5 separate regions of the Homo sapiens genome follow, and all the other regions are linked to region 1. Evidence: promoter capture Hi-C in human tissues and cell types (Jung and others, 2019). All regions are on one chromosome and are shown on one strand. The core of a region is centred on a gene start or on the middle of the fragment in contact, and the rest is flanking DNA. Distances in the headings are between cores, read along the strand shown.

The links. Contacts are between HindIII fragments. The study calls those that stand out against the background at their distance.
Region 2: a contact is called between the fragment with the promoter of TUBG1 here and the fragment with the promoter of KCNH4 in region 1, in 4 of the 25 tissues and cell types used here (aorta, dorsolateral prefrontal cortex, mesenchymal stem cells and 1 more).
Region 3: a fragment that was not itself captured here is called in contact with the fragment with the promoter of KCNH4 in region 1 in 1 of the 25 tissues and cell types used here (IMR-90 fibroblasts).
Region 4: a contact is called between the fragment with the promoter of KLHL11 here and the fragment with the promoter of KCNH4 in region 1, in 3 of the 25 tissues and cell types used here (adrenal gland, pancreas and stomach).
Region 5: the fragment with the promoter of COASY here is called in contact with the fragment with the promoter of KCNH4 in region 1 in 1 of the 25 tissues and cell types used here (mesenchymal stem cells).

What each region holds. Positions count from the first base shown.
Region 1 is chr17:42,179,628-42,184,555 of GRCh38, reverse strand. It overlaps KCNH4 (potassium voltage-gated channel subfamily H member 4), which reads left to right and starts at 3,414. Exons shown (of 17, transcript NM_012285.3): 1 at 3,414-3,686. The coding sequence starts at 3,611. It overlaps HCRT (hypocretin neuropeptide precursor), which reads left to right. Exons shown (of 2, transcript NM_001524.1): 2 at 28-496. The coding sequence ends at 402. RefSeq lists enhancers at 1-329, 831-890, 4,454-4,928 and silencers at 181-400, 2,983-3,258, 3,265-3,504. The HindIII fragment of the contact is 13,187 bases long and covers 1-4,928 here.
Region 2 is chr17:42,607,936-42,613,476 of GRCh38, reverse strand. TUBG1 (tubulin gamma 1) reads right to left here and starts at 3,794. Exons shown (of 11, transcript NM_001070.5): 1 at 3,691-3,794; 2 at 3,257-3,369; 3 at 2,887-3,054; 4 at 1,334-1,402; 5 at 971-1,050; 6 at 404-530. The coding sequence starts at 3,739. RETREG3 (reticulophagy regulator family member 3) reads left to right here and starts at 4,103. Exons shown (of 9, transcript NM_178126.4): 1 at 4,103-4,391. The coding sequence starts at 4,153. RefSeq lists an enhancer at 4,112-4,221. The HindIII fragment of the contact is 7,237 bases long and covers 1-5,541 here.
Region 3 is chr17:42,665,482-42,670,620 of GRCh38, reverse strand. TUBG2 (tubulin gamma 2) reads right to left here. Exons shown (of 11, transcript NM_016437.3): 7 at 5,059-5,139; 8 at 4,794-4,943; 9 at 4,382-4,534; 10 at 4,137-4,298; 11 at 3,615-4,018. The coding sequence ends at 3,821. It overlaps PLEKHH3 (pleckstrin homology, MyTH4 and FERM domain containing H3), which reads left to right. Exons shown (of 13, transcript NM_024927.5): 10 at 1-48; 11 at 245-703; 12 at 1,000-1,191; 13 at 2,318-2,707. The coding sequence ends at 2,494. Among named protein-coding and RNA genes, the nearest start is that of TUBG2, 8.8 kb to the right of the region's middle. RefSeq lists enhancers at 1-60, 1,816-2,391. The HindIII fragment of the contact is 5,317 bases long and covers 186-5,139 here.
Region 4 is chr17:41,861,850-41,866,983 of GRCh38, reverse strand. KLHL11 (kelch like family member 11) reads left to right here and starts at 1,561. Exons shown (of 2, transcript NM_018143.3): 1 at 1,561-2,158. The coding sequence starts at 1,614. ACLY (ATP citrate lyase) reads left to right here. Exons shown (of 29, transcript NM_001096.3): 29 at 1-66. RefSeq lists enhancers at 376-876, 877-1,377, 3,121-3,630 and a silencer at 1,411-1,600. The HindIII fragment of the contact is 18,491 bases long and covers 1-5,134 here.
Region 5 is chr17:42,558,621-42,563,491 of GRCh38, reverse strand. COASY (Coenzyme A synthase) reads right to left here and starts at 1,344. Exons shown (of 9, transcript NM_025233.7): 1 at 170-1,344. The coding sequence starts at 869. RefSeq lists enhancers at 819-1,008, 1,019-1,268. The HindIII fragment of the contact is 9,955 bases long and covers 1-4,871 here.

The DNA.
Region 1 (4,928 bases), core at 2,165-4,664:
CCCAGCGCCCTGTCTCCGTCTCCCTAGGTCTCCTGGGCCGCCGTGACGCTACTGCTGCTGCTGCTGCTGCTGCCGCCCGCGCTGTTGTCGTCCGGGGCGGCTGCACAGCCCCTGCCCGACTGCTGTCGTCAAAAGACTTGCTCTTGCCGCCTCTACGAGCTGCTGCACGGCGCGGGCAATCACGCGGCCGGCATCCTCACGCTGGGCAAGCGGAGGTCCGGGCCCCCGGGCCTCCAGGGTCGGCTGCAGCGCCTCCTGCAGGCCAGCGGCAACCACGCCGCGGGCATCCTGACCATGGGCCGCCGCGCAGGCGCAGAGCCAGCGCCGCGCCCCTGCCTCGGGCGCCGCTGTTCCGCCCCGGCCGCCGCCTCCGTCGCGCCCGGAGGACAGTCCGGGATCTGAGTCGTTCTTCGGGCCCTGTCCTGGCCCAGGCCTCTGCCCTCTGCCCACCCAGCGTCAGCCCCCAGAAAAAAGGCAATAAAGACGAGTCTCCATTCGTGTGACTGGTCTCTGTTCCTGTGCGGTCGCGTCCTGCCCATCCGGGGTGGCAAAGCGTCTTGCGGAGGACAGCTGGGCCTGGAAGCCCGGCTGTCGGGCACCAGCCTTAGCTTTTGCGTGGTTGAATCGGAAACACTCTTGGTTGGGGAGTTCCCAGTGCAAGGCCCTGGGGCACAGAGAGAACTGCACAGGTGCATGCTTGGATCGGGCCATGCGGGACTCCTACGATGCTCTGCTAGGCATTCTGTAGCGGGGACTTTACCCAGAGACGCGGAAGGGGAAGGAAAGCAAGAAAGGTTGCAGCGGTCGGGCGCGGTGCTCACGCCTGTAATCCCAGCACTTTGGGAGGCCAAAGCAGGAGGATCCCTTGAAGCAAGGAGTTCGAGACGAGCCTAGGCAACATAGTGAGTGAGACATCTCTCCAAAAAGTTTTTTTAATTAGCGGGGTATGGTGGGCGAGAGGATTGCTTGAGCCCAGGAGTTTGAGTTTGAGCCATAATTGGGCCACTGCACTCCAGCCTGGGCAACAGAAGGAGGCACTGTCAAAAAAAAAAAAAAAAGAAAGAAAAAGAAAAAAGAAAAGAAAGAAAGGAAAGAAAGGAAGGAAGGAAGGAAGGAAGGAAGGAAGGAAGGAAGGAAGGAAGGCAGGCAAGCTGCATAGAGCAGCAGAATCCAGCTAGGAAGGGGTGGGAGTCAATCCTGCTGAAAAGGCAGGGAATTTGAACTTCAACAATGAGTCATCCAGAATGGCTGCATCATGGGGTATAGGGTGTGGGGAGTGGAGAGGCTCAGGAAGGGACACAGTTACAGTCAGTGCAGCACAGCTCGCAAAGGCTCTCACAAATCATCGGGCTTTGCACTTTATCTTGTAGGTAACAGAGTCATGGGACATTCTTAAGCAGGGGCAGTACAAGATTTTACTGCAACTCCAGCCAAAGACACCTGTTACTGGTGTTCCCAAAATCCATATGTTGAAGTCCGTACCCGTGGCACTTCAGAATGTGGCTGTATTTGGAAATAAGGTCCTTCCAGATGCAATTAGTTAAGATGAGGTCATACTAGAGTAGGGTGGGCCTCTAATCCACTGTGACTGGCGTCCTTATAAAAAAGGGAATTGGAACACAGAAACACACACAGGGAGAACCCATGTGAACATGAAGGTAGAGATTGGCTCCTACAAGCCAAGGAACACCAAAAATTGCCAGCACCCCCACCCCCAGAAGATAGGGGAGAGGCATGCAACAGATTCTCCCTCATAGCCTTCAGAAGGAACCAACGCTCTTCACCTGACCTTGCTTGGACTTCTAGCATCCAGAACTGTGAGACAATAGGTTTCTGTTGTTTGAGCCACTCACTTTGTGGTACTTTGTTATGGCAGTCCTAGGAAACTAATATAACATCCAAAAGTAGAGACACAGGCTAGGCTCCGTGGCTCATGCCTGTAATCCCAGCACTTTGGGAGGCTGAGGCGGGCGGATCACTTGAGGTCAGGAGTTCAAGACCAGCCTGGCAAACATGGCGAAACCCCATCTCTACTAAAAATACAAAAATTAGCCGGGCATTGTAATGCACGCCTGTGATCCCAGCTACTAAGGAGGCTGAGGCGGGAGAATTGCTTGAACCCAGGAGGCAGAGGTTGCAGTGAGCTGAGGTCATGCCACTGCACTCCAGCCTGGGCAACAGAGCAAGACTCCGTCTCAAAAACAACAAGAACAAGAACAACAAGAACAACAACAACAACAAAAGTAGAGACACAGAAAAATGTGGCACTTCTTAGCAATCTAACATCCCAGATAATACCTAGCTCAGAGGGTGGGGAGAATTTAGCCTGCCCTCCTTGCCCATAGGGTTCCCACTTTCACTGCTTCAGCTGTTTTGTCGTGGGAAGCAGCCACCCTCAGCCACAGAACTCAGCTGCCTCAATTTTCTGCATAGGTAGTGAGAAAGTCCTGTGTCTAGTCTCACTTTGGTCCCTCTTGCTGCTGTACTGGTTCCATCTTGGAGAAGTTAGAGGTCAAAGTTCACATGTGCATCCTTGGAGATTTGCAAGCCATGACTCTGCCCACCTCGAAACTATCTTTTTCAGAGGTAGTTTCTCCCAAACTTGCCTCCAGCCTCTCTTCCACTTGAAGGGCAGCAGAGAGGAGGATTAAGACAGTAGGAAGAGGGAAAACAGGCAGGCAACTGCCCTTCAAGACACTTATTTTGTACCAAAGACATGCATTATGGTATTACATTCTCACGGTAACTGCATCAGGTAAGAATTATCAGCTCCATTTTACAGATGAGGAAAGTGGGCTTGGAGAGGATATCACACGATTGGTGTCTAGAGCTGGGACTCTACCTGGTGGACTCCAAAGCTCTTTTCATTCCACCATGCTGTGTCTCAGTAGGCAGAGTTCGCCAGGGTGTCTTGGGAAAACTGAGGCAGGAGGTAAGAATGGTGCTTTCTAGAGTTGGGGTTTCAAGCCTTCCCATTGTCCATTCTCTACCAGCAAACTAGCCTCTTAACCCTTGCTGTCTCACGCTGGAGCTACTGGCCTGTGGGTGCTGCGAAATATGTCAACTCCAGTAGGCGGCACTGTGAACCAGACACCAGCCCAGCGTGGACGCCGCGCGGGAAAACCCGCGAGGTGGAGCCACAAGGAGCAGCCAGGGAACCACGTGTGGAGGCGTGGCCAGCCTGGAAGAGGGCGGGTCTGTTATTCAAGCCCCGCCCATCATTTCAGGCCTCCCCTCCCGGTGGGCGTGCCCCGAATTCTCTCCCCGAGAGACACGCGTGGGCCGCTCCCCTCTGGGAGGAGGGCTGCCCAGAGGGGTGCGGGTGTCGCTAGCGGCCCCTCCCCGTGTGGGGCCACGTGGCGGGTGCGGGCCGAGCCCGAGGGGAAGAACCTGGCCCGTGGGGAGGTGGGGGGGACCGAAACGGCGCTGAGCCGAGCCGAGAGCTACGGGGTTCGGAGCAGAGGCAGCGGCAGCGGCAGCGGCAGTAAGAGGGAGGGGAGGAGGCAGGAGGGCGCATGGGGCGCCCCGGCCCCTCCGACAGCGCGCCCCCTCCGGCCCGGCCGCGCTGAAAGCTCCCCAGCGCCGCGCCTTGAACCCACGCCCCGGGGCCATGCCGGTCATGAAGGGGTTGCTGGCCCCGCAAAACACCTTCCTGGACACCATCGCCACCCGTTTTGACGGAACGCGTGAGTGGGACGGAGGTCGGGGCTTGAGGTTCGAGCTGGGGGGCAAGTATCCTCGGGGCCGTCTCGGATCTCCTGGACATGGTGAGACCCGAGGCGAGGGGAGAGAATGGAGGTGCGGGTCTAGGAACTCCCAAAGCCGCGGTGCAGGAACAGGGCGGGGAGTGCCCTGCGAGGGGAGGAGGGGAAAGGGCCGAGAGCACGGGGGCCAAGGTTAGGGGGTGTGACTCGAGGCAGAAGAGGCTCTTTGTGCGGCAGAGCGGAGGAGGGTCCTTCGGAGCCGCCCACTCTCGGGCAGAGCTGTGCTGGGGGCGTGTATGGGGGTATCCGAGACACAGAAGTGGGGCAAAGTGGCCGGGCATTCTGGGGTCTACTCACAGACTCCAGCTCCCACTACCTCCAGAAAAAAAGGAGAAAAGATCAGACTTCAGCAGGACCTAGTTTGGATTGAGGTCGCGCGCCCCCAAATCGTGGGGCGTCAGTGTCTAAGGTGGGTGAGGCAGGAGGAGGGGAGCGGTCTGTGCGACGGTGGGAACTCCCAGCTCGCCCAACGTAGCTTGGGTTTCAGGTTCAGCACCTTGGACAGCCACATCACTCCTCCCCCGCCTCTTCTCCCGCCATTCCCTCTTCCCACTCTGGAACCCAGAGATTCCCCGCCCTCACCTCCCCCAACCCCGCCATTCCCTCGGGAACCCTGGCCGGGATCTGGATGGTGGGGGAGCGGTACCCGAGGGCGGAAACTGAGCCGCCGGGCCCTACCCTCTTCCCCACCACCTTGTTTCCATAGCGCCCATCACCGGGGCAACAGGCCCTGGGATGGAAGAAGGAGGCTGTGCCCAGAGCCCAGTGCCTCCCAGGCACCTTCAGTGTCCCCATCAGCCTCCCTGCCCCCAGACAGTCATCCCTCCTAGAGCACCAGGACTGGTTGTGTCACAGGCCCCATCTCTTAGCTGAGTCTCTGTCCCTGGATGGCCCACAGGAGTCCCCCTGGCCTCCCACCCATTGGAGCTGGAGGGAGACAGCTCGGGTTCTGCTGCTGGGGGTTGCTGGAGCTATACGCTCAATGCCCTCTCCCATTAGACTTTGAGCAGTGGGGCAGATCCCCTGAAAGCAGCTACAAGAATGCTAAAAAGTGGACCTTCTCTGGAAGGCAGGGAAGGAAGACAGCACTCATCACTGTCTGCCCCCACACTAAGGAGATCTGTGAGTTTGGATAATCTCTGCCTTTTGGTTTCCTATCAATAA
Region 2 (5,541 bases), core at 2,545-5,044, 430 kb before region 1:
TTTTTCTTTTCATCTTAATTATTTAAACAGTTTTTTTTTTTGTTCTTGTTTTTTGAGACAGGGTTTCACTTTGTCACCCCGGCTGGAGTGCAGTCAGTGACATGATCTCAGCTCACTGCAGCCCCTGCCTCTGAGGCACAAGTGATCCTTCTGCACATATCACCACTCCCGACTAATTTTTGTATTTTTAGTAGAGATGGGGTTTCGCCATGTTGCCCAGGCTGGTCTCGAACTCCTAAACTCAAACGATCCAACGACCTTGGCCTCCCAAAGTGATGGGATTACAGTCATGAGCCACTGCACCTGGCTAAAATGGATTTTTTTTAAATACATGAAAATGATTTAATAGACTCGAGTGGGTATGGGGTGTTGAGAGTTGGGAGAGGTAGAATCCAGGACTCACCACACAGTCTGCATTCTGCGTCAGCCTCTTGAGTGTGAGGAGTGAATTGTAAGGCTGGACCACCACATCGCTCATCTCGTCCTGGTTGGGAAACACTGAGTATGTCTGCACCAGCTTCTTAGGATACCTGGTGGGGGTTGGGGAAAGGATCAGGGCAACAGACCGAAGGCCTGGTGAACATGGCGCTCCCTAACAACTGTCCAGAAGCAGATAAATCTTGATGGCGAAACTGGGGTGGGGTCAAATCAGTAGAGAAGGGAGCCTTGACTTTTGGAAGTCTGTAGCCCTACAGGGGGAAGGGCAGAGACATCTTAGACTCTGGGCTTCCAAATTGAGACCTGGCCACACTCCCTCGACTTTCATCCAGGGCTCAGGTTCTAGGCTCCAGTTCCCACTACTGGGAGTGTGATGGGGTTCTCAGTCATTGTAACTTCATTTTCCTCTCTATAGGAGGGAATATAAGAACTCTTTCCTGTTCCAGCAAATATGGAGTTATATCTGCTGGGTCCCCTAGTCATTTAGGAAGCCAAGTTGGAGACCTTTCCTAATCCCCAAACACAAACTTACCTGTCATTCAGCCGTTCTAAGAGGTAGGAACCCAGTCCAGAGCCTGTCCCCCCAGCAATGGAGTGACACAGCACAAAGCCCTGCATGGGGAAGGGGCAGTCAGTGTACAGGTATCTAGTGGCAGGATGTCAAACTAGACCCATCTCATAGTTTTTTAGGACTCCCATTTTCCCGAGCCCTTGCTTCCCATCCAGTCCCCTCACTTATACAGCTTAGGCAACTGCCTTGTTTCTGGCAAGGCCTGATAGCTTCTGTCCAGTGCAAAGGGTACATGAGTGGGTCTTGTTCCTAACAGGTCGCTTCTAGAGGGTGCTGCCAAGCCTTGCCCATGTCGGCTCCTACCAGCATTCCTGGGACACTTACCTCTAGACTGTCACTACCATCTGCCTCCCGGTCTATGATGTCAAAAATGTCCTCATGGATCTTTTCTCCCTGTACAGACATAGGGGAGGGTCAGAGTGGGACAGAACCATGGGAGGTCTCTGACCTCAGAAAAGCCACCCTCAATTCTCCTTATAACACCCAGAAGTCCTTTTATGGAGCATAGCTACCTGCTTTTATCTACATTGAGAGGCAGTACGGTGCAGTGGTTACAAGAAAGCACTCTACACCCAGACTACCTGGGTTCATACATTAGCTCTATTTTTTTTTGCGATGGAGTCTCTCTCTTTCTCCCAGGCTGGAGTGCAGTGGCGCGATCTTGGCTCATGGCAACCTCCGTCTCCTGGGTTCAAGCGATTCTCCTGCCTCAGCCTCCCCAGTAGCTGGGATTATAGGCGCATGCCACCATGCCCAGCTATTTTTTGTATTTTTAGTAGAATCAGAGTTTCACCATGTTGGCTAGGCTGGTCTTGAACTCCTGACCTCAGGTGATCTGCCTGCCTTGGCCTCCCAAAGTGCTAGGATTACAGGCGTGAGCCACCACGCCTGGCCCATTAACTCTACTTCTATGTAGCTCTGGGCAGCTTATTTAATTGCTCTATGCCTCAGTTTCCTCATCTGTACAATGAAGGTAATAATACAGGTCCATATACCCTTATCTAACAGTGTTGGGGCCAGTTATGTTTTGGAATTCAAAATATTTCAGATTTTAGAAAGGTATTATGGTATATATACTATATATTAAATAAAATTCCAGTGGGAATTTTTATTTAATCAGAAGCACGTTAATCAAATATATTAGTATTTCTGTAATAAAAGGCATCACTAATGACAGTAAGTTGGATAGAAACTATAGGGCCGGGCATGGCGGTTCACGCCTGCAATCCCAGCACTTTGGGAGGCCGAGGCAGGTGGATCACGAGGTCAGGAGATCAAGACCACCCTGGCTAACACAGTAAAACCCCGTCTCTACTAAAAATACAAAAATTAGCCAGGCGTGATGGCAAGCACCTGTAATCCCAGCTACTCGGGAGGCTGAGGCAGGAGAATCGCTTGAACCCGGGCAGCAGAGGTTGCAGTGAGCTGAGAGCGTGCCACTGCACTCCAGCCTGGGCGACAGAGTGAGACTCCGTCTCAAAAAAAATAAATAAATAAAAATTAAAAAAAAGAAACTATAAAACAGCCTGTCTTCATTGAAATTTGTTTTTGCTGATAAACTAGTTATGAAATGTCCTTTGGTTTCATGGCTTTCTGGATCCTGGAAAGGCAGATAAGGGACTGTGGACCTGTAGTACTTACTTCTAGGGTTGTTGGGAGATTTAGAAAAATTAATATATGTAAAGCACTTAGAATGACCTGGCACACTGCATTAGCTAGTGTAGGCGCTTGACAATATTACATAGTCCACTCCCTGCAGCCAGGTCTCTCCCTCCAGCATTCATACATCCCTGATCCGGTTTTCCCTCTCTTCGGGACGTCATAGAGCCTGTCCCTACCCAGCGAGTTGTGGGCCCTGCCAGGGAATAGGAAACGACCTGGGAGAATCCGCTGGCCCAGTTGTTGCCAGCTCCTCCTCCATGTTCCGACAGGTAGATGTTCTCTGGGTTGTAGAGCTTGGCATAGGGGGAGTTGAGGATGGAGTGGATCACCCGGGGTTCCAAGTCCAGCAGCACGGCCCGGGGGATGTAGTGCTCATCGTCTGCCTGTCAAGGGGAGTCCAGGAGGGGGCCCAATCAGCTAGGGCGGCCCAAGTCCGAAGTCCTCCCAACTCTGGCTCCCTCCGGCCCTCCCTCCTCAAGCCAGCCGCCTGGCCCTACTGCCCAGCGGGGTTCCCAGTACCAGGCCACTCCCTTCCCTTCCGCCCCCTTGGGCAACTGCCGCCCCCGGCCAAGTCGCTGGGGGCACCTGGTAGAAAAAGACGTCCTTGCGGTCAGTGCCCTCGGTGGCGAACTCCTCCACGATGCCCTCGGGGCTGATACCATGCTCGGCGCACAGCTGTTTCCAGAACTCGAACCCAACTGGGGGGAAGGGGCGGGCAGGGGAGAAAGAAGATATCTAGGTCCGGGCAGGTTCCAATCAGGAGCCGGGGGACTGGGCGCCTGCGTCCAGGGATAAGAAGTCAAGCCGCAGGACTCTCCCGTGTCTGAGGAAAGGACTGTACGCCAGGGACTGGGCAGGGGAGGGCCCCTCGGGGTTGGGCAAGTGGACACTGGGTCAGGGATGTCTCGCCTTTCAGAGAACTACGATTCTGGCAAGGACAGATGGAGTCCAGGATCCCACAGCGAGATCCCATTGACCCTAAGGAACCTGGCTAGCTGAGGGGCCGGAGTTTCGCTCACTCTGATTGCCGCACTGGCCCAACTGTAGGGTGATGATTTCCCTCGGCATCGCTCCTCAGGCACCGGCGTTGCAGCCGCTCCCGCCCGCAACGGCGCCGCACGCCAGCCCGCTCGCCGCAAGACGCAGGCGCCAAACAACCAGCTCCACCCACGAACTTCCTCCGCTCCAATGAGAATCGAGTTCTGGCAATGAATGGCACGTCTTTAAGCACTGGCCTTCGTTCATGCAGATTGCGCGTGCGCGGCTCCGGATGCGGCTCGGCGCCTCCGGATCCGGCTCCGCGCCTCAGTGAGGGCGGGGTACGGCGTCCTCCCTCCCCTCTGGGTGGGCGCCTGCTTGGGCCTGCGCGCAAGCGCGCTGTGGTGCGAAGCCACCTCCCCCGCCGAATCGCGCATCTGCGCAGTTGCTGTTATTGTGACTTGTCGGGCCACGGCCCCGGATGTTGTGGCTGCCGCGGGGAGATGGCTGAGGCCGAAGGGGTTCCCACGACCCCAGGCCCGGCTTCGGGGTCGACTTTCAGGGGCCGCCGAGATGTGTCAGGCTCCTGGGAGCGGGACCAGCAGGTTGAGGCGGCGCAGCGGGCCCTGGTGGAGGTGCTGGGGCCTTACGAGCCTCTGCTGAGTCGGGTGCAGGCAGCCCTGGTGTGGGAGCGGCCAGCTAGGAGCGCTCTGTGGTGCCTGGGGCTGAACGCGGCTTTCTGGTGAGAGAACTGGACCCTCGGAAACCCTCCGAGTCCCGAATTCGTTGGTTCCTCTAGGGCTCTACTTCTCGCCTGCCCTGTTTTCTTCGCTGCACTGGCTCCTTCCTGTACTTGCCTAATTTTGCCTCACCTCCTTCCACTCCATCCCGCCTGCAGGCTTCGGCACCCTAGTTCTTCCCAGGGCCGTCCACCCATCTTCTCTGCCTTACCTGTGCCCGCACCCCCGCCCCGCACATCTGGCGGGAGCTTCTGGTAACATCTTGAGCCGCTCAAGAGTGAGCGAGGGCTCCTCTTTTGAGCCCGACAAAGCTGCGTCCCTTTAAAGCCATCACTTCCTTTCTCTTGTCTGCTCAAGTGCAAGTTCTAGATTGTTTCCAGAGGTTTTAGTAGTTTATTGTTGGAGTAGAGGCGTGAAGTCTTGCAAAGGTATCCATAGGTGTGATTATAAAACAAGCTTGAGCGATTCGCATGAATTAGCATGTTATATATCTAGGAAGGAAGTTTATGAAGTCTAAGCGTCAGTGTGAGCCCCCAAAGCTGAAAATTGAAAGAAAATTACAAGCTTTTAAAGAACAGTTAGGAAATGATGACGGAGATTACACGCGTGTCAAAGCCACCTGTGATTGTAACTCCTCCCTGTTCCAAGGAATTAGAGAGGCATCCTTAGCCATGGTTTATAGGCAAGGAAATTGATGTCTAATACTGTGTGTGAGTTTTCCTGAGCTGGAAAAGTAGCACTGTAAATATGCTTTATTTGTGTGTGTCATGCTCTGTGAAAATGGAACTGCTGCTTCTCTCAGTTGTCATCACCTGAAGTGGACCTAGGACTTCATAGGATCTACCAACCATAATTTTGGATTTATTTGTAATGGAGGAGGTTCCAAGGGAACTGACTTATAGGGGGCTTTCTGCTGCTGAATGGATTAAGACTATTCTGGATAAGCCTGAAACAACAAAATATGTGTGTTTTTTAATTGTGTTTTTGCTAAAAATAGCTTTCCCCTTAAAATTTGTTTTAAAATCAAAACATTTATTATCCTTTATCTGAAAGATTTTCAGTGAGCTGAAGCAGAACAAATAATTCCAAGTTCATTGACCCGAAAACAGTGTTCAGCTATTAAGCTAATCCTCTCCCAGTTTGAAAGAGACC
Region 3 (5,139 bases), core at 1,595-4,094, 490 kb before region 1:
GAGGGGCTGTCCCCAGACGGTCACGAACTGCCTTTCCTCTTTGAGCAGGTGAGGCTCTCCGGCGTTCACGCCTCCAAACAGACCCCCAAGCCTGAACCCCTGGTTTTCTAGGCCGTCTCATTTCATCACTATGGCAGCCCCGCGGGAGGCTTGACTGGAACCTAGACCTGCTCAGATTCCGCGAGGCGTTTTCGCGACGGTTCCGCCGCCGCTCGTACACTGACGCCGGGTGCCTCCCCTGCAGGCTCACGCTCTGCTGCTGCGGGGCCGGCCGCCCCCACCCGACGACACGCTGCGCGCCCTGGCGGCGCTGCGCCTGCAGAGCCTGCAGCGGGACTTCTCTCCGCGGGTGCCCCTGCCCCGCCTGGACCGCCTGCTCCCGCCCCCGGCCCCGCCGCGCGAAGACCCGCCCCGCCCGACCCCCAGGCCGCCCCCTTCCGCTGCCCTGCTGGCCGGGGCGCTCTGGAGCCCGGGCCTGGCCAAGAGGCGGGCGGAGCGGGCCCGGCGCGGCGGGGCCGGCCGCACTGCGGGAAGCATTGCCCGCGAGGGAGGAGGCGGCGCCGGCACGGCAGCTGCCGTGCTGGGCGGCTGGAAGCGGCTACGGGGCATGGGCCGAGCTGAGGCCATGGCCGCCTACCTGGCCCTGGCGGCGCAGTGTCCGGGGTTCGGCGCTGCTCGGTATGACGTTCTGGAGCTGAGCACGGTGAGGGGGAGAAGGGAGAAGGGGACTCTGGCGGCCCAAGCCCCACACCTTTGCCCCAGAGCCACAGGTCCCACGGAGTGTCACGTAATTCCCCACATCCAGAACAGCTACCCATCTCAAACCCCAGGAGTCACCAGCCCTTGGGCCCTCACATCCCTGGAGCCTCAGCCCCCTCCACACACGTGCTGTGAATCATAGGGGGATCAGGATACTCCTGCTCACAGACACCCATCTCCCCCTACCAAAAATAACGCTGGGCTCCTCCTTCCACCCTGACTCTGCCTCTCTGTCTGCAGGAGCCTGGTCGGGGTGCTCCACAGAAGCTGTGCCTGGGCTTGGGAGCCAAGGCCATGTCCCTCTCCCGGCCAGGGGAGACGGAGCCCATCCACAGTGTCAGCTATGGCCATGTGGCCGCCTGCCAGCTAATGGGCCCCCACACCCTGGCCTTGAGGGTGGGAGAGAGCCAGCTCCTCCTGCAGAGCCCCCAGGTGAGTGAGAAGAGGAGTTGTGGGAGGAGGAGAGAAGGGAAGCGATGTCAGGAAGCATTTACAGAACACCAAACCTGGGCCAGGTAGAGCTCTAAGCACTGGGGATCCAGCAGTGATCACAGACAAGCTGAAGGAGCTTACACTAGAGTGGAGTCAGACAATAAACAAGGAATCCCAGGCTATGAAGACAGTGAGAAATGCTACAAAGGAAAGAGTGATGTGACAGGAAGCCAGGGAAGGGTTCTCAAAAAGGGTGCCATTTAAGCTAGCCAGGGAAGACCTGGGAGAACAGCATTCCAGGTAGAAAGAATTGCAAGGTGGCCGGGTGCAGTGGCTCATGCCTGTAATCCCAGCACTTTGGGAGGCCGAGGCGGGCAGATCACGAGGTCAGGAGATCGAGACCATCCTGACCAACATGGCGAAACCCCATCTCTACTAAAAATACAAATTAGCTGGGGCTGGTGGCGCACACCTATAGTCCCAGCTACTCGGGAAGCTGAGGTAGGAGAATTGCTTGAACCCGGCAGGCGGAGGTTGCAGTGAGCCGAGGCACTTCAGCCTGGCAACAGAGCAAGACTCCGTCTCAACAACAACAACAACAACAACAACAAAAAAAAATGTTAGAAGAGCAGAAAGAACCAAGTATAACTGGCACATAGAAATGAAGGAGAGAAGCCGGCCGCGGTGGCTCACGCCTGTAATCCCAGCACTTTGGGAGGCCGAGATGGGCGGATCATGAGGTCAGGAGATCGAGACCATCTTGGCTAACACGGTGAAACCCTGTTTCTACTAAAAATACAAAAAATTAGCCGGGCGTGTTGGCGGGCGCCTGTAGTCCCAGCTACTCAGGAGGCTGAGGCAGGAGAATGGTGTGAACCCAGGAGGCGGAGCTTGCAGTGAGCTGAGATCGCGCCACTGCACTCCAACCTGGGGGACACAGCGAGACTCCGTCTCAAAAAACAAAAAAGAAATGAAGGAGAGAGTGGTGATAAGGAAGGAAAGGTTGCAGGGCCAGAGCACGTAGGACCCTGGTGGGGAAGCTGGAGCCCTAGAGCCTGGAGAAAGGATGAGAAAAAGAAGAGAACCTGGCAGCCCCTGTTGCACACTGACCTCTGCCCTCTCTTAGGTGGAAGAGATCATGCAGCTGGTGAATGCCTACTTGGCCAACCCCTCCCCCGAGAGGCCCTGCAGCAGCTCTTCTCCTCCATGCCAAGACCTGCCAGACACCTCCCCTCCCAGCCAGCGCCCGGGCCTGGACGAGCCCCAGGGACAGTCTGGCTGCTTGGGGCAGCTGCAGGACTGAGCCTGCCAAGAGGTCACGACTTCCCTCCTGCCTGCAGCCTGGGCCAGGACTGCTCTGAGATTTGAGGGAAACATGGACCCTTTTGGCCCTGCAGGGACAGGGCACATCCCACACCCAAGGGCTACAATGGGTGTGGGTAATTTTCTAGTTTGTTTCTTAATTTATTTGTAGAAGAGAAGCAAAAAAAAAAAAAAAGTTTCTTATTTACACAAACCCTTCCTGTGGGAGTGTTATTCAGTGGGACAAGTTGGAACCCCATAACGCAGAGCCCCGCCTCTGGGGATGCCCACACCCTGGGCTTTTACCAGGCTCTGGGGGAAGTCTGGACACCACAGCGCTTCACCCTCCCCCTCCTTGACCTTCCAGACTTAACCTCCTCCTGGCCAGTGTGCTGCCACAGGTTTGTGGGTGGAGCAGGCAAACAGGCCTCATTGGAAGCTGGCAGTTACTCACCCTCCCTTCTCCACTGAGTGGCATACAGATGGCCTCCTGGAATCCCTGAGGCTGGAGGGCAGTGAGTCATCAGATCTGGCACTGCCCATTTCTTACTCGTTGTCCACCTCTGGGCCCATCATTGGTGTGCCTAATGCTTTGGGCCTAGAATGGAGAGAAGCTTGGGGCAGATAACAAACCCACGAATTTCTCTGGCACAGAAAAGTAACTCAGGATGTGCTCAGCCCTACTCTTGAATTCTGTTTCTACTTATCAGGTTGGGTTGAACTGGATTGAGTTCCTGGAACTCTCATGGCCCTGGGCACTGGGAATCTGGAACCTTGGCTCTCCTGGCCTGCTCAGAATGTAGTGTGCCCTCCTTCAGTAGACCCCACCTCCTCTGCCCTGAGTGGAAGAGGTTGGGGCAACATTGACCCTCACTGGGGCAAAGCTTAGGCGCTGAGGAGACAGCAAACCTCAGTAAAGCTCTGTAATCTTGAGACAAGGGCTGACTCTAGTAATACTAAACAGCCTAGTTCAAGGTGAGGGATGCCAATGGAAACAGTGAACACACTAAGATTTGGACTAAGTGATAAGACGTTGGAGGAGGTGAAGGCCACCCTACTGTCAGATGCCTAGAAACTGGACCCCTTCACCACCCCCCCGTATTCACAGATCAAGCCCTGGCTATACTGACAACCAAGCTTTATTACTTTATTAGAGCTGAACAAGCATATTAAAAGTTAGGGCATGGAAGGGAGGAAGCAGGACCAGCTCACGGGCTGGAGATGAACCAAGAAGGGTTGTCCATGAGGTGAAGCTGGGTCAGAGGGAGCAGGCATGGTCGAGGCTGTGGTTACCATCTAGAAGGAGAAGGAGTAGTGGGGAGGGAAATCACTGCTCCTGGGTGCCCCAGGAAATGTAGTCTGGCTGGGTGGCCGCATGGTACTCATCAATGAGCTCCTGAACAACCTCCCTAGACCTGTCCATCTCATCAAAGTTGTCCTTGAACATGTCCTCCTTACGGAACTGCTCGAGGAAGGCATCCCGCTTCCGCAGCTTGTCAAACTGCTGGCAGGAACTTTCAAAGAGCTGAAAGAGATGAAAATCTCCAAAATGCGAGCCAGGGGGTTAGGAGTGAACTTGGGGAAGATGATGAAGGTGGCCAGTGGAACAGACTCTTCTAAGAAGAATAGAAACCTAGACTCACCGAGGAGATGCTGGTGTGGTTGGCCATCATGAGCCCGCTGACCCGGTGGGCCGAGGGCAGGTAGGGAGACTTCCTCGACAGGGCCACCTGGATGCTGGCGGGGCCCCACGGGATGAAGTTGGCCAACTTCCGTTCCCGGATCCTCTGCAGGCTCTTGTGGACCTGGGGTGGGCATAGGAGCAGTGGAGGTGGCCTCTCCTCTACCCCTGCAGGTCCAGGGCGCGGGATGAAGGGGCCTCCCCTACCTGGGTGGGGTCCACCTCTCCCTGGATGATGTTGAGGATGGCGATGTAGCAGTGGTTGGTCTGGCGGTCTCGGCCTGTGGACACCATCACGTTCTTGGGCTGCAGCAGCCGCCTCATGACATCCAGGACCGTGGTCTTCCTCACGCTGGCCACCTGATGGGACAGTGAGACAGGGACCCGGCCAGCGCTCAGGGCACAGTCCCTTTGGCTTCTCTTTGGCAGAAGCCAAAGGCAGAGGGAGGGTGGAGAGAAAGTCAGCAAGAAAGTCGCCCGCTCTGTGCCAGTCCCTGAGCGCAGTGCCTTGGGGCCTGCAAAGGGCAGCTCCTGGGGCAGTGGGGAAGAGAGAAAGGCTGGGGCAGGGCCTGCTGGGCCCAGGGCCAGCCTGGCCTGGGACACTGAAGGCTGCTCTTACTGACTGGTCTGTAGTGAGCGGGGTGTAGCCGGTCATGAGGAAGTGGAGCCGTGGGGTGGGAATGAGCGAGGCGATGAGGCCGATGAGGTCATTGTTCATGTAGCCGGGGTAGCGCAGGGTGGTGGTGCTGGCCGACATGATGGTGGACACCTGGGGACAGGCGTGCCATGTCATGGGGCTCGGCCTGGGTGGGACCTTCCTTCCCCAGATGACCCTCCAGCAAGGAGGGCTTCCAGTCCAAAGGAGTCCGGGAGTGGGGGCCCACCAGCTGGTTGATCTGGGAGAAGGACGGGTTCTGGATGTGCAGGCGGTCTGTGGCAATCCGGTTCAGGGCTGTGTTGTCCAG
Region 4 (5,134 bases), core at 312-2,811, 320 kb after region 1:
ACCTCAGTCTCTTCTCTGTATTATCATAGTCTGGTTTAAATAAACTATATAGTAACAATGAAGGCATACTGCTGGCTCCTGGCATCCATATCCTTTGATCTGTATTCCTTTGTAACTGTACTTTTTTCCAGACAGGGTATCACTCTGTCGCCCCAGGGCTGGAGTACAGTGGCACCATCACAGCTCACTGCAGCCTCCATCTCCTGGGCTCAAGCAGTCCTCCCACTCCAGCCTCCCAAGTAGCTGGGACTACAGGAGCATGCCACCACTCCAGGCTAACTTTTGTATTTTTTGTGGAGATAAGGTTCTGCTGTATTTCCCAGGCTCTTCTGGAACTCATGGACTCAAGCAATCCATCCTCCTTGGCCTCCCAAAGTGCTGTTACAGGCGTGAGCCACTGTGCCTGGCCTGGCCTGAACTGTACTAATAGTTTCAGTATATATGGTTTTAAAAATGCTCATCTACGGTCAGGCGTGGTGGCTCATGCCTGTAATCCCAGCACTTTGGGAGGCTGAGGCGGGTGGATCACGAGGTCAGCAGATCGAGACCATCCTGGCTAACACGGTGAAACCCCGTCTCTATTAAAAATACAAAAACTTAGCCAGGCATGGTGGCGGGCGCCTGTAGTCCCAGCTACTCCGGAGGCTGAGGCAGGAGAATGGCGTGAACCCGGGAGGCGGAGGTTGCAGTGAGCCGAGACCCGCGCCACTGCACTCCAGCCTGGGCGACAGAGCGAGACTCCGTCTCAAAAAAAAAAAAAAAAAAAAAATTAGCCTGGAGTGGTGGCGGGCGCCTGTAGTCCCAGCTACTCGGGAGGCTGAGGCACAAGAATCGCTTGAACCCGGGCGGCGGAGGTTGCAATAAGCGAAGAGCGCGCCACTGCACTCCAGCCTGGGCGACAGAGCGAGACTCCGTCTCAAAAAAAAAAAAAAAAAAAAAATTAGCCTGGAGTGGTGGCGGGCGCCTGTAGTCCCAGCTACTCGGGAGGCTGAGGCACAAGAATCGCTTGAACCCGGGCAGCGGAGGTTGCAATAAGCGAAGAGCGCGCCACTGCACTCCAGCCTGGGCGACAGAGCGAGACTCCGTCTCAAAAAAAAAAAAAACAAAAAACCCAAAACAAAACAAAAACAAAAAGAAACAAAAAAAAAAACGGATAACGAGTAACTCATTCATCCCTCATCCACTTAGCTGGGGCTAGATCTTATAAAAATCCTGTATTGCCACTCAAGGCTTTAACAACAGGTGATGGTCTAAGGTGGCTTTACTCGACAAAATGACTGCAGAGAGCATGCTACCCACTAAGGAAAGGAAGCGAGCCATACTCGCACCGACGCCCTGGGGGTAGGCCTGGGGCGAAGTCTTCTGGACTGGGCGACTGTTACTGACGGACCTCACCAAGGCAGGCAGAGCTGCTGGAGGCGAGGCGGCGCTGCTGGAGGCGAGGCGGCGCTGCTGGAGGCGAGGCGGCGCTGCTGGAGGCGAGGCGGCGCATGTGCGGCCGGCGGGCGACCTGGCCCCGCCCCGCGCGCACTATTTAATCCCAGAATCCCTCTGTGTCGTACCAACAGCCGCATCGTTCCGAGGCTGTGGAGGCCGGGCGCAGCGGCGTCAAGATGGCGGCTGCGGCAGTGGCGGCGGCGGCGGCGGCGGCCGCGGCTGCATCTCTTCAGGTACTGGAGATGGAGAGCATGGAGACGGCCGCCGCCGGCTCGGCAGGACTGGCCGCCGAGGTCCGAGGCAGCGGCACGGTGGACTTCGGGCCTGGGCCGGGGATCTCTGCAATGGAGGCGAGCGGGGGCGATCCGGGCCCAGAAGCCGAGGATTTCGAGTGCAGCTCTCACTGCTCAGAGCTGTCCTGGCGGCAGAACGAGCAGCGGCGCCAGGGCCTCTTCTGCGACATTACCCTGTGCTTCGGCGGGGCTGGAGGCCGCGAGTTCCGGGCCCACCGCTCGGTACTGGCTGCCGCCACCGAGTACTTCACGCCCCTGCTCTCGGGCCAGTTTTCCGAGTCCCGCTCGGGACGGGTGGAGATGCGCAAGTGGAGCTCCGAGCCGGGGCCCGAACCCGACACAGTGGAAGCCGTAATCGAGTACATGTACACCGGGCGCATCCGCGTCAGCACGGGCAGCGTGCACGAGGTGCTGGAGTTGGCCGACAGGTAGGCGAGGGAGGCGGGAGCGCGGAGGGCGGCGGGCGCGGAGAGGGGGAGATGCTCGCTGGCGGAGGGGAGGGCAGTGCCTGCCACGGCAGCTCGCGAGTCCTGAGTGAATGCATTGGTTTCACACTCGCTGAGCGCCTGCTTGGGGGCAGCCACCGCGGTGGGCGAGGAGGATGCACCATCAGGTCCGGCGAGGGCGCCCCGCGCCCAAGGAGCTCAGATACTAGGTGATGGGACAAAAGTGATGAAAAGGAAAGTCAGTATGTGGTAACTGTTGTGCTGACGTTCAAAAGGAATGAAAGGCTAGGGATTGAATAAAGATCTTTCTGAAGAGGTGAAGTTTAGATCGACCTCTGAATGTCAAAAAATAACTGACCGTGCAAAGATGGGGAATGAATATTCCAGACAGCGCAAACGCCCTCAGGCAGGATCCAGTTTGGCTTAGAGAAGAGAATTAAAATATAGTCCAGTGAGGCTGGATCTAGTGGATGAAGGGGAGAAGGATGCGTGAGATGCGTTGGAATAAGGAGTTTGGATTTCACTAAGTGTGATAGGAAGCTGGGTAAAGAAATAGCTCATTTAAATATTTTAATATTATTCTGCCACTGTGTTAAACGGATTGTAGGGAGCAGGAATGCTCCAGAGACTGGTTAGAAGGCAGGTAATACCGTTTATAGAGATGGAGAGGCGTTTGTTTTGGCAATTATCATCTTACAGATACATTAACAAAAATGCCTATTGAGCGCCTATTACGCATCAGCTCAGATGCGGGATTCTAAGGTGCTAGGGTTTCAGCAGTGATCAAAACAGACAAAAGTCCTTTTCCTTATCGCACTTAGGTTGGTAGATGGACGGTAAATAAGTAAAATGTATAGCCTGTTGGATGATTGTTAAATGTATAGCCTGTTGGATGATTGTCATCACTGATGAAAAATAAAGCATGGGGGGAGTACATAGAAACTGCTGGGGGAGAGGAAGTGTTTTCCAAATTGGGTGGATAGAGAATGCCCTATGAAGAAGACGTTTTGCTAAGAACCGAAGGAGGTAAGGTAGACTGTGTCAGGTAGGGGACACAGGTACAGAGGCTCTGAGGTGGAGCTTGTATGTTAGAGAACAGTGGGGAGCCAGTGTGGCTGTATCAAAGGGATGCAGGATGAGAGGAACAGGAGAAGCCCCAGGATGGTAATGGGCAGGGATCCAGATCCCGTAGGGCCTTGATGGCCTGTGGAAGGACATGAGCTTTTACTCTGATTGAAATGGGAAGGTTTGGGGCAGAGGAATGATGCAGTCTGATTTGATGAATAGTGCTGTGCTGAAAAAAGGATGTGGCGGCCAGGCGCGGTGGCCCACGCCTGTAATCTCAGCACTTTGAGAGGCCGAGGTGGGTGGATGCTTGAGGTCAGGAGTTCGAGACCAGCCTGGCCAACATTGTGAAACCCCTGTCTCTACTAAACGTACAAAAATTAGCCGGGCGTGGTGGTGTGCCTGTAATCCCAGCTGTTGGGGAGGCTGAGACACAAGAATCGCTTGAGCCTGGGAGGTGGGAGGCTGAGGTTGCAGTAAGCTGAGATTGCGCCGCTCTACTCCAGCCTGGCGGACAGAACAAGACTCTGTCTCAAAAAAAAAAAAAAAAAAGAACAAAGGATGTGGCATTGGGGAGGAGGGGGCACCAAGGGCAGACGCAGAGAGACTAGTGTAGGAGGTTGTGGCAGTGGTGGTGGAGGCTTCGATTGAGGAGGGAGAAGTAAAGGTGATGAGAACTGCTCTGGTTCCAGATATATTTTGAAAGTGGATGAGATGAATTTGCTGATGGATTTGACGTGGGGTATAAGGGAAAAGACTGCTACCTTTTTGACCCAAGCAATGGGAAGGATGGAATTATTAAGATGTGGAAGATTGCAGAAGAGCCTGTTTGGGAGTAAGATCAGGAGTTTTTGGATTTGGTTAAGGAGATCCCTGGGAAGTGCATGGGAGCTAGAGATACAGATTGGGGAAAATTACCGTATAAATGGTAACTAAAGCCTTGGGGCTGGATGGTATTACTTAAGGAGTATACATAGAAAAGGGGCAGCGGGGAGAGAGTAGGCAAGACTGAGCCCTGGGGTTCTCTAGAATGTAAAATAGCCGGCTGGGCGAAGTGGCTCACGCCTGTAATCTCAGCACTTTGAGAGGCCGAGGCAGATGGATCACTTGACCAGCCTGGCCAACATGATGAAACCCCATCTCCACTAAAAATACAAAAATTAGGCCGGGCGCGGTGGCTCACGCCAGTAATCCTAGCACTTTGGGAGGCCGAGGTGGGCAGATCACGAGGTCAGGAGATCGAGACTATCCTAGCTAACATGATGAAACCCCGTCTCTACTAAAAATACAAAAAAAAAAAAAATTAGCCAGGCATGGTGGCGGGTGCCTGTAGTCCCAGGTACTCAGGAGGCTGAGGCAGGAGAATGGCGTGAACCCAGGAGGCAGAGGTTGCAGTGAGCTGAGGTCGTGCCACTGCACTCCAGCCTAGGCAACAGAGTGAGACTCCATCTCAAAAAAAAAAATAAATAAATACAAAAATACAAAAATTAGCAGGGCGTGGTGGCAGGTGCCTGTAATCCCAACTACTCAGGAGGCTGAGGCAGGAGAATTGCTTGAACCCGGGAGGTGGAGATTGCAGTGAGCTGAGATTACGCCACTGCACCCCAGCCTGGGCAACAGAGTGAGAGACTGGATCTCAAAAAAAAAAAAGAATCTTAAAGAGGAGACTGATCTCATGGAAACGTAGAAAAGAAGGATATCAAGGAGGGAGTAGCCAGTCGTGTCAACTCTGTCAACCCATTAGTGATGGTTGCAGGTCAGAGATGCCATTGACAAGAGCTGTTAAGCCTTGCTTTATAAAGAGGATCAGAAACGTGTAAATGTTTTGGGGGACAATCCCACCAAGGTAAAAGATACTAGAGCATGTCTGTGTGCTGCTGAAAATGATTCAGT
Region 5 (4,871 bases), core at 95-2,594, 380 kb before region 1:
CTGTTCATTTGACAAAATGGCCTTAGCACCAATTGAGTGTCAACCACTGTGACATTTGGGAAGGGTGGGAAGTAATGAATGGCCCTACCCTTCCTTGATCTCGGCATAAGGGTCGGGGGTGGGGAGATTTGGGGATCCTCCACCCTAGTCCAGGGTCCCTCTTACTCACTCTTCAACAGATCTTTGTCTGCTACTCCCACCACAAGCTGCTCCTGGGCCAGGATGCACGCGACACTGAGCAACACCTTGTGGGCGTTGTGCAGGCGGTCAAACGTGCCACCGACAGCGCCACGGTAGTAGCCACGCACCGGCTGCTTTGGAGACCCGGCCACGGGGGAAGCTGGCCTGATCGTGGAGGGTAAGGGGACATCCAGGGGCTCCACGGGCACTTCTCCTATCCCATAATCGGAGTATAGCAGCACCGAGGCCAGTCGCGGACAACAGCTGTAACAGCTGGTGGCGTAACGCACTAGCTGCTGTTTGACCGGGTTGTACTGGCTTCCATCCAGGGTCTGGAAATCTGTCAACACGACTTCTGGCGGGTGGGCGAGATTCTGGACTGAGGTGGGCAGGGGAGGGAGAAAGGTGCTCTTGGTTCGGATATTGGTCAGTAGGATTCTGACGTCCAAGTGCCTGTGGACGTCGGCGCCAGCATAGAGGTGCGTGATGAAATCAAGAACCTCAAACGTGGCCTGCACGGGGCTGGACTGGGGCTGAGCCGGGCCCTCCAGGCTCATGCCCGGCTGCAGGTGAACATAGAGTGTGTGATTCACCAGCCGGGCCGCCGAGGTCAGGATGGAGGCCAGGCGAGGGGCTAGGGAGGCCAGCGGCGTCGTCAGCACCAGGAGACCCGACCGGAATACGGCCATGCTGCCCAGGCCTGCGGACAGTCAGGGAGACGAGGCGACGGTGACTGAAGGGCCTGCGGCCGAGGCAGAGGCCTGTATGGGACCTTGGACCCCAGAGAAGGAGGCCTGGAGCAGGGACGGGGTTTCAGTGCTGACCGACAGGAGCCGGGGGAGGGGACGGGGCCTGGTAGACGGCGCCTCGGGGCTGTGCTCTAAGCCTTGGTGTCCTCATTTCTCAGACGGGGCGGTGACTTCGCTGAACTGAGTCGAAATCCTGGGAGGGGGAAACTGGACAGGAACCCTTGTCACAGGGCTGGGGATCCAAAAATCCTGGGCCCTCTTGCTAAGCTGCACCAGGGTCTTCAAGGAATCGAAGAGGGAGGCTAAAGGGGGACGCTAAAGCTCACGTCGGCCCCCTACTCACTGAAACCTCAAGGCTTGGGTTCCACTTGCACCACCGCGGAGGCTTCCCTGGCTGCAACCCGGAAGCACTAACGGAGAAACCGCAACTCGGAACTACGGAAACGGAGGAAGGTCAAACGTCTCGACTTCGCTTCAGCGCGGGATTCTCGCGAGATTTCCAGTGGCATGGGCTGTGTCCTGCTGATGGGGTGGGGCTGATCCCGAAGGCTCTGGGAGTGGGTGAAGCCTTGATGCCGATCGGACCCCCGCTGGGACCGGGCGGAGAAAGGCAAGGCAGGTTTCAAAGCCCATTTCACAGATTCCCTTCTGGCCTGATGAGGAGAGATTAGTTTCAGCCAGGCCACCCAAGAGGCATCGGCAAAGCCAGAACTAACACCCAGATTTCCTTCATTCCAGGGACAGAGGTGGGGAATCACAGGGCTGCGCTGTATTAGCCCTCCTAGTACCCTCTCAGTCCGAGGATTCTCACATGGGAGGCTACTGGACAGGTCTGTCCACGTACCCATTTCACAGATGGAAAAACTGAGGCCTTGTGTGTACCTGGCTGCTGTAGGAGGCTCTCGCACCACCCAGATCCTCTGATGCGCTTGTTTGCGGGGTCTCTGTGGACAGGAGAAAAAGGCAAAGGCTGATTGGGCGCGGTGGCTCACGCCTGTAATCCCAGCACTTTGGGATGCCGAGGTGGGCAGAGCATCTGAGGTCGGGAGTTCGAGACCAACCTGACCAATATGGAGAAACCTTGTCTCTACTAAAAATACAAAATTAGACGAGCGTGGTGGCGCATGGCTGTAATCCCAGCTACTCAGGAGGCTGAGGCAGGAGAATCGCCTGAACCCGTGGGCGGAGGTCGCGGTGAGCCAAGATTGTGCCATTGCACTCCAACCTGGGCAACAAGAGCGAAACTCCCGGCCGGGCGCGGTGGCTGACGCCTGTAATCCCAGCACTTTGGGAGGCCGAGGCGGGCGGATCACGAGGTCAGGAGATCGAGACCATCCTGGCTAACACGGTGAAACCCCGTCTCTACTAAAAATACAAAAAAAAATTAGCCGGGCATGGTGGCAGACGCCTGTAGTCCCAGCTACTCGGGAGGCTGAGGCAGGAGAATGGCGTGAACCCGGGAGGAAGAGCTTGCAGTGAGCCGAGATCGCACCACTACACTCCAGCCTGGGTGACAGAGTGAGACTCCGTCTCAAAAAAAAAAAAAAAAAAAAAAAAGCGAAACTCCCTCTGGAAAAAAAAAAAGAAAAAAGAAAAAGGCAAAGGCTGGATACCTAGTGTGGGAGATTTACTGCGAAGCTAATGGGCGCTTGAAAGGCTGAGTGTGGAGGGGAAGCCAGGTTGCTATTAGAATACATCTCAGGTAAGTTGTGCATGGAGATCAAAAGGGAGAGAAGCCAGTCTCCAAGATTCCAGTAATGTGCCGTGGTATCCGAAACTTAAAAAAAAAAACAAAACTCACTTTTATATGTAATTTTGTGTTTATCTTTTGTATTCTTGAAGACGGTCTCCAAAAGCAAATAAGCCCCCAGCCCCACAAAACCTGGGCTTATGATGGAGAAAAGGAGATGCTATTTTAGATAAGGTGATTCAGGAAAACAGCAAAGACCTGGAGGAAGAGATACAGTCAAGGAGGGAAGAGTTGTAGAGCCACAAAGGTATTAAGGGACCAGGCTTCTCACAGGAGACATGTTAGATTTAAAGATAGGGTCTGATTTGAAGACACAAACAGCAAAGGCTGCCAGAGAATGTCCCAAGACATCTGGACACACAGTCTGACACACCACATACAGAGTCATTTTTATTGAGTAAATGTGTATTTTACTGCCTCCCACAGGGATGGACCAGTGAACAAAACAATGTCCCTGCCATCCTGGGGTATAGAGTACTGTGTGTCTTGGGGTTGCAGACAGGAATCATGCCACCATAAATAAATCTATAATACATGGCCAGGCGCGGTGGCTCACGCCTGTAATCCCAGCACTTTGGGAAGCTGAGGCAGGCAGATCACCTGAGGTCAGGAGTTCAAGACTAGCCTGGCCAACATAGTGAAACCCCGTCTCTACTAAAAATACAAAAAATTAGCTGGGTGTGGTGGCGGTACTTGTGATTCCAGCTACTCAGGAGGCTGAGGCAGGAGAATCGCTTGAACCTGGGAGGCAGAGATTGCAATGAGCCGAGATCACGCCACTGCACTCCAGCCTGGGTGACAGAGAGACTCCGTCTCCAAAAAAAATAAAAATTAAATTAAAAAACCCAAATCCATAATATATCTACTGGTGATAAAGGATAAGAACAAAAGTAAAGCAGAGTAAGGGAGCTATAGTGGAGAAGCTGAGAGGCTATTTTAGATAAGGTGGTTCAGGAAAACAGCAAAAATCTGAAGGAAGACATAGAATCAGAGATCAGGGAATGTGACCCAGAGGGGGCCAAGTACAAAGGCCCTGAGGCAGGAGGGCTGAACTGGGTGATGTAGATGGAGATTGGTGGGAGATGAGATCAGAAAGGGGGCAGGAACCAGATCAAAGAAGGTCTTGGAGAGCTTTGGGGAGAACCTTGGTGCTATGGTTCGAATGTCCCTGCCACAACTCATGTTGAAATAAAAAATTCAATTGCTACTGTCTTAAGAGATGGGACTTTTTTTCTCTTTGAGACAGGGTCTCACTCTTGTCCCCCAGGCTGGAGTGCAGTGGGTTGATCATGGCTCACAGCAGCCTCAACTGCCTGGGCTCAAGCAGTCCTCTGCCTTGGCCTCCTGAGCAGCTGGAACTACAGATGTGTGCCACCACACCTGGCTAATTAAAAAAAAAATTTTTTTTTTCATACAGACAGGATCTTGCTGTGTTGCCTGGGCTGGTTTCCAACTCCTGAACTCAAGCAGTCCTCCCACTTCAGCCTCCCAAAGTGTTGGGATTACAGGCCTGAGCCACTGCACTGGGCAGGGTGGGGCCTTTAAGAGGTAATTAGGTCAGCTGGGCGAGGTGGCTCACTCCTGTAATCTCAGCACTTTGGGAAGCCAAAGTGGTGGATCTCAGGTGGATCACCTGAGATCAGGAGTTTGCGACCAGCCCAACCAACGTGGTGAAACCCCGTCTCTACTAAAAGTACAAAAATTAGCGGGGTGTGGTGGCATGCGCCTAAAATCCCAGCTTCTCAAGAGGCCGAGGCAGGAGAAAAAAAAAAAAGATAATTAGATCATGAGGGCTCTGCCCTCTTGAATAGATAAATACTGTTATCATGGGAGTGGCTCCTGATGGATGGACGACATTTGGCCCAATTTCGTGTCTCTCATTTGCTTCCACCTTCTGCCCTTCCATCCTGGGACAGCCCTTTGCCAGATACTGCATGAAGTTCTTGCACTTTCCAGCCCCTAAAACTGTGAAGCTCTGAGCAAAATAAACTTTGCTTCTTTTGTTTTGTTTTAAGACAGAGTCTCACTGTCACCCAGGTTGGAGTGCAACGGCATGATCTCGGCTCACTGCAACCTCTGCCTCCCAGGTTCAAGTGATTCTCCTGCTTCAGCCTCCTGAGTAGCTGGGATTACAGGCACCCACCACCACGCCCAGCTAATTTTTCTATTTTTAGTAGAGACAGGCTTTCACC